Regions from separate parts of the Homo sapiens genome. Here region 2 is linked to region 1. Evidence: promoter capture Hi-C in human tissues and cell types (Jung and others, 2019). All regions are on one chromosome and are shown on one strand. Each heading gives the region's core, a stretch centred on a gene start or on the middle of the fragment in contact. The rest is flanking DNA. Distances are from core to core; before and after follow the strand shown.

Region 1 (3,741 bases), core at 481-2,980:
GTGAAAACCTGTCTCTATTAAAAATACAAAATTAGCCAGGCGTGGTGGTGCATGCCTGTAATCCCAGCTACTTGGGAGGCTGAGGCAGGAGAATCGCTTCAACCTGGGAGGTGGAGGCTGAGGTGAGCCAAGATGGCGCCATTGCACCCCAGCCTGGGCAACGAGAGCGAAACTAAAAAAAAAAAAAAAACAAAATTGTTAAGATGGTAAATTTTTTTTTTTTAACCACACACAAAAAGAATGTAGCTAAAGAAAAACAGTAAATAAATGGAAGGACATAGATATCAAGAAGATCCTGAGGATGGCACATGAAACGTCAATTTGGGATGCACCTGCTCAAACTCCTTCATTGTACTAATGGCCACAAATTAGCTGCCTGACCTGGACCTTGCCTGACCTTGCTCCTACCCTGTTCCTTTATTCTTCCCTTCCCCTAATCCAAGTCCTTAACTCCAGCAGGATATACAGGCCTCCCTATCTCTAGCATGGTCTCACCGGCTGCTTCCCCTAACAAGAATGTTCTCCCTTCAGACACCTCTACCAAATCCTACCTCATCTATGGGAGCTGCCATCCCCACTTGGCTGTTTTTACCACTCCTTTTAGCCCTTCACCATATGCTGCCTTGTAACTAAACTGTAAGCCTTTGAAAGAGGCAGATCCTACAGCATTTAATAATTCTAGCCATTGGGCAAGGCACTTTTTGGAGCCTCACTTTCTCAAGCCTATAAAAAAGGTGGAGGCGGCCATATGACTATGACCAGGGCTTTTGAGTCAGATGGCCTCAACTGGTATCCCAGCTCTTCCACTTACTAGTTGTGTGCTTTGGGTAAGTTTTATAACCTCTTTGCTTCTCAGTTTCTTCATCTGTATAATGGGGTTTATGATAAATCTCTCAGTATGGCTGGAAACATGAACCAAGATTATTACCCATGTCTAGTGCTTCCAAAGGCCCCTCTCATGTCAGTGCTTAGTAACCACTAGCCATTATTGGCATTATCCGGACAATGGAGAAGAGACTGGGAGCTTTCTCTTCTGGAAGAACAAGTGAAAGGATAAAGCGGGATGATGGTGGGAGAAATGTGCCCAAAATTCAAGGGGATGGAGAAAGGGGGCCGGGAAGGCGTGTCGGACAAGATTCTCGATGGAGGAGGATGCTGGGAGTGGGCCGGGGGCTTCTGGAGAGGTGAAGGGGCACCCCCGGACTCGGCTGTCGGTTTGGTCGCTTCCCCCGTAACCTTTCATTGGAAACACGGTGCTTGTAGGAAGAGGACGCCCTAACGGGCCCTGAGCGAAATCAGGCGGGTCGCTGCCGAGATCTCGGTTCGGTTTCCGACAGGTTTCCGGGCAGGTCCTCGCGGCGGGCCCGCTCCTCCTTCCACCTCCCACCTCTCTCACAGCCAGCGGGCGGGGCAGCCCTCGGCCGGCCGCCGGCCTCCGTCTCCCGGGGTGACCTGGGGGAGCGTTTCTGGGGTCTCCAGCGTGGCGCGCGGTCAGTCACTGACTCCAGTGAGGGGCTTCAAGGCCAGGGCTCCGGGGCACTTTATCCCCAACCCCGGCCGGAAGGCCCGCTTCGGCCCGTCGACCTGGGGACCAGGCCTTCGCCCTCGGTCGTACCTGACCTACGGCGGCCATCGCCGTTCTTGCCTTTCGTCTGCAGCTCCGTTGGGGCGGCCGCCGCCACTGCCTTGCCCTCGGCGCAGCCCATGTCGCACAAGGCCCTGTGGGAACTGACGGAGCCGAAGGACGCCTGGCGGAGGCCGCGAGCCCCCTGCCGGCCGCGGGTCGGAGAACGCGGTGGGCGGGGCGCTCGGTGACAACAGCGAAGTCATAGCCCGTGTATCTTCTTCAAGGTCGTGAATTTTTTTTTTTTAACAGGAAAGAACGGTCGCTAAAGGTAAATTGGAAAATGCAGAAATGGAAAGGAGAAAAGAGCGCACCACCCAAAATCCTTATCCTTCGGCTGGGCGCGGTGGCTTACACCTGTGCACTTTGGGAGGCCGAGGTGGGAGGATTGATCGCTTGAGCCCAGGAGTTTGAGACCATCCTGGGCAATGTAGAGAAACCCTGTTTCTACAAAAAATAATTTTAAAAAATTTATCCTTCACACAAACTACTTTTGCTGTGTTTACTATTTCTTTCCAGTTTTTCCCCTCTATGCATAGTTTTGCATCCAGCATTTCACTTAATACTAGTATTTTCCATACTATCACATAGTCTTGTAAGCCTCCCAGATAACCACCTGGCTTCCACTGTCACTTCAGTCTTTGCCTCTTTGACCGTAGATGAAGCATACACTGAACATCGTAGTTTCTTTTTAATACACTTTATTTTTTAGAGCAGTCTTTTTTTTTTTTTTTTTTTGAGACGGAGTCTCACTCTGTCACCCAGGCTGGAGTGCAGTGGCGCGATCTCAGCCCACTGCAACCTCTGCCTCCCAAGTTCAAGCGATTCTCCTGCCTCAGCCTCCCGAGTAGCTGGGACTACAGGCGTGTGCCACCATGCCCAGCTAATTTTTTGTATTTTTAGTAGAGACGGGGTTTCACCGTGTTAGGCAGGATGGTCTCGATCTCCTGACCTTGTGATCCGCCCGCCTCGGCCTCCCAAAGTGCTGGGATTACAGGCGTCAGCCACTGCGCCTGGCCTTAGAGCAGTCTTAAGTTCACAGCAAAAAGACCATCCTATTTGAACAGAAATCTGATCACGCCCCCCTCAACTCTACCCCCACCCTTTACTTTACTCTATTTTATTTTTACCAGCACTGAGAGCCTTCTAACTTACCCTATATTCTCTGTCACCTGCTCCCACTCCCTCCGCCAGCCTCCCCACGACACCCTGCCCATGTAAACGCTGCCAAAATAGAACCTTTGCATTTTTTTCTTGTATCTTGGCCTTCAGCTTGGGCCAGGTGGCCTCCCCCACCTCTTGAAGGAAAGCAGGGAAGAAGCGGGAAAATATTAATTTGAATAATTATAATAATGTAATAGTCCATCCACTAGAGCTACTGGACGATTACATAGCCTATTATTAGATGTTTAGTTTGTTTTTTATTTTTAAAAATTATGAATAAGGCTGCAGGGAACATCTTTGTGTTTATAGTTTTAAGGCTGTCATTACACGTTGCCAAAATTGCTTTTTTGGAACTGTGGTTCCCATTTGAACTCCTACTAGTAATGAATGAGAGTGATTTTTTTTAACACCAAACCACATTGCGGCACATCAGGTGCACAGTCACTGTTCTCTATCAGTGCAGTGCTCTGTTTTTCCTTCTTTCAATTAACTAACATATGGTAAGCATCCAACTTATGCCTGGCTTTGTTTAGGGTTACAAGGTGACTCAAATTCCCTGGTCTCAAGGAACTTCCACCCCAGCTGAGATTTAGTGAACTTGTCTGGTCACCAGATGCGTGGCAATTGTGTGGGCCCTTTGTTTTCATTTGGGTTTGTGGACAAGCTTATATCCTGCTTCTCTGGAGAGCAGCCCAGAGTCAAAATGCTCTTGGAAAACACTGGGTGTTTATTTGCTTAAACACAGAAAACAAATAAAACTGAACCAAAGGCTTTTTTTTTTTTTTTTTTTGGAGATGGAGTCTCGCTCTGTTGCCCAGACTGGAGTGCAGTGGCACGATCTCGGCTCACTGCAAGCTCCGCCTCCCGGGTTCACGCTATTCTTCTGCCTCAGCCTCCCTAGTAGCTGGGACTACAGGCGTCCACCACCACGCTAATTTTTTTTGGTATTTTTA
Region 2 (3,741 bases), core at 507-3,006, 580 kb before region 1:
GGTAATATAACCAGTATTTTCATTGTATCCAGTTATAGAAAGCAGATTTTTACTGAATTTATGCAAATAACCATGAATAGTTCCCACATTTTGGAGGCATCAAGTAGGTAGAAAAGCAATTGCTTCCATCTTTGTTCACACGAGTACACTTTACCAAATTTCTGTAAACTATGGATAACTAAGAAAAAAAAAGTTCCTTCAATCTGGAAAATAAAACATTTAAGAACCAATAATGTTTCAAATAAACATAAAAACATCTTCATCAGTTACTTAATCTCATGTAATTAATTTTTGTTTTGCTTGATCTTATCTGTTTTATGAACCCATCAGTTTCTTCATTAAATTTTTGAAAATTTTTTATGTAGTCCATTGATCTTACAGTTATTAGAAACCTGTATTTAAGAGTAGTTGTTAGAGTATTTTTCATGAAACTAATTGCAAATGCTTTTGGAGAAAAATCAAAACAATAATTGTGAATGACAGAGACTTAAAATAGCCATGGTTAAGAATCTGACTTTGATTCATTACAATCAGCAATTGACAAGGAAATTTGGTTATTTTATGGCATACAATATAATAACCAGAATTATGGCCAATAAGATATTAGATTTCTAAGAGTTTTGTACAGTTGGGGACATTCATATCAATAACATACCCATAAATGTAACTGAAAGAAAACCTAGCATCACTTATCATTTGACAATACTTCCCGTACAAACAAGCCTAGTCACTTAATATCTCTACAAGATGAAAGATACATCCTTTGAGGCTCTCCAGTGGCCCACATGGAAAATCCTGAAGTTAATTCTAGGTCAAAAAGATTTAATTTAGAATGTTGATCCTGGAGAAGCCTGCCAAAGATGCCAAAAAGTTCAAAATACTTGATCAAAACAGGATCGCAGGTCACTGTGAAATAATAGCCATTCATTTAACCAGAGTGATAATCCAAAGACTTCAAAAGCAATAAAGTTTCATAAATGTAAAAAAAAAAAGCAACTTTTTCAAAGCTCAATTTTTCTACATAATAATAAAAATAAAGATAACAACAGGAAATTATCTTGGTAAATATAAAATATTTGCTTTTTAGGCCAGTTACCAAAAATAAAAACCTCCTCCAGTGTAACTGCTTCTCCTTATGGGAAGCCTATTTAGATAATCTGGAAGTCAAACCTCATGAAAGGGTACTTGAACTTAATCAGACACAGGAAGAGTGTGCCCAAGGTTATGAATGTATACCATATTATAGAGAAATATAAACAAGAAAACTAGTACCTTGAGCAGGGGAATATATGTCTCTTACTAACATCATCAGAAGTTTCCTGGTTACATGGAACAATTCAGACACATTAAGAAAAGCCAACAGAATTAAGTTATACTAGAAGAAAACACTGATTTTCCAGGCCTTCAGGATAAGCATTTTACTGTCAGGTTATAACGACAGAGTTGGAGCTGGAGAAAAAAGTTAAGGAATGACAAAAAAGTTGAAGGAGAGAGAGATCATCTCAGTCCTTCTCAAGTAGAGAAAGAAGAACAGGAGGCAAGATGTTATGACCTGCAAATCACATGTCGCAAGATAGAGCCAAAGTCGAACTTCTGAGAAATAGATCTGAGAAGCTTCAACAGGAAAACTCTACCTTGTTAAATGAAATTACCAACCTGAATGAAGACAGCATTTTCAGCCTGAAACTAGGGACATTAAATGAATGTCAGGAAGAAATGTGGCAGAAATAGAAACTGTACAGTTTAGAAAATGCCTGCTAAAGAAACAGATTTTAGAATTAAAAATAAAAATGTCTTGTAATTTTTGCTAAGAGCAGATCAAAAATTTGAGAAAACCTGGCTATTCTAGCATAGGGGACCAAAAATTTAATTTTGTATTAGTGTATTTTTAATATCAAAGTTCAATCTTTAGAAAAACTTACAAATAATTCCCTTCTAATTGTAACCAACATGATCACACAAAAATTGCTTTTATAAATTCATTCTTCACAAACCTTATCATGATTTACTCAGACACTCGATATGCTTAGCTTTTTTGCTTTGTCCTCTACTTCGTCTTTCTTAAATAACCAGTCATTTGATGTTAGGACAAAAATATGCCACTCAAGATTCTTTCTTATACAAAATTATTCTCTTCCTCTTAAACTTCCTTACCAAAAACATATCTTCACTGTCAAAGTCACCAATAGCCTCCACATTGCCAAATCCAATGATCAATTTCTAATAAGAATTCTTACCTTATTTAATCTCTAAAGTCATTTAACAGAATCTCCTTCCATCTTGAAATATTTTCTTTACTTTGCTTCCAAAAGTCTGCCCTTCGCTTTCTTTCCTTACCCTACTAAAAGCCCCTTCTCAGTTTGTTTTGCTGGTCGCTTCTCTTGTTCTCAATCTCTAAATGTTGGAATGCTCTAGGGCTCAGTTTTATCATCTCTTCTCTATCTACTTTCTTTCCCGATGTGATCTTACCCATCTTATTGTTATAAATATCATCTGTACTGATTATTCCAAAACTGTCTAGTCCCAACCTCTCAACTGAGTTTTAAATCTGTATTTCCAAATACCTGCCAGACAACTCTACTTGAATGACGACTAGGTATCTCAAGCATTTGAACACTCTCATCCACCTTGACCTAATTGACATCTGTAGAACACTTTATCCAACAAATGCAGAATACATATTGAAGGTTAATCTCCTTGGCAAACAAAGAACTTTTATAAATCAAGGGAAAAAATACCAGCAACCCAATAGTAAAATAACCAGAGGAGAGATGGTTCACAGAAAAAAAAATTTAATACCACTCAAAAAAATGCTAATTAAAATCACACTGAGATACTACTTACCTATCAGATTGGCAAAAATTCAAAACTGGATAAAACATTCTCTTGGCAAGGCTGTAGGGAGACAAAATTGCTGGTGGTAGAGCAGAATAAAAGCTCTATAGTGGGGAATCTAGCCATATATAACAAAATTACAAATGCACTTGTCATCCTATCTTGTAATTTCACCATTACTAGGCAAGTAAAGGCTGGGCCCTTTGCTGCATGATTTATAGCAAAGTTTGGCAAATTTCAGCCAGTGGGCCAAATCCAGTTTGCTGCCTGGATAAATAAAGCTTATTAGAATTCAGCCATGTCCATTCATTTCCATATGGCCTATGGCTGCTCTCCCTCTATACAGTAGAATTGAGTAGCCTTAAAAAAGACCATAGAGCCTGAAAGCCTAAAATCTTTACTATCTGGCCCTGCACATACACATACACACACATACACACACACACACACACACACACACACACACACACACACACACACACACACACGTTCACCTACCCCTTCTTTAGAGTGAATTCCTAATTTCTAAATCTTCTTTCTAAGTCTCCCCACTGATAGCGAGACTAGCTGGAGTCAGCAGTGCCATCTGGGCAGGGTGCCCCAACTTGGAACTGATCCTGTATGGTCTCCAGTTGGCAGAAGCTCCTACCTTACAGTTTTGTAAGTTGCCATCCAAAGCCTGAGACTGGCCAGTGGGCTGGCAGTTGGCCCAGTTTCTGTTTTTCCCCTTGTTTGAGGTCCACCAGAGACCAGAGACTCATGCCTATGGGGTAGTTCCAGGATTCTATGGCCAGCCCTAGTTCCAGAAAGGCATTTTGATGAGTTGATTGCTCTTACTGACCAAAATGACATGTTGATTTTGTGTGACTTTCATGTCAGACACAGGGGAAGTTGAGAGCTCTGGGC

Evidence for each region. The method cuts DNA at HindIII sites, captures the fragments that hold promoters and counts their contacts. A contact is called where the count stands out against the background at its distance.
Region 2: a fragment that was not itself captured here is called in contact with the fragment with the promoter of TXNRD1 in region 1 in 1 of the 25 tissues and cell types used here (heart left ventricle).

Annotation. Positions count from the first base shown.
Region 1 is chr12:104,213,768-104,217,508 of GRCh38, reverse strand. It overlaps TXNRD1 (thioredoxin reductase 1), which reads right to left and starts at 1,730. Exons shown (of 17, transcript NM_001093771.3): 1 at 1,616-1,730. The coding sequence starts at 1,706. RefSeq lists enhancers at 722-1,337, 1,338-1,954 and a silencer at 1,778-1,867. The HindIII fragment of the contact is 11,252 bases long and covers 1-3,741 here.
Region 2 is chr12:104,795,848-104,799,588 of GRCh38, reverse strand. No RefSeq gene overlaps it. Among named protein-coding and RNA genes, the nearest start is that of SLC41A2, 160 kb to the left of the region's middle. The HindIII fragment of the contact is 7,020 bases long and covers 1-3,741 here.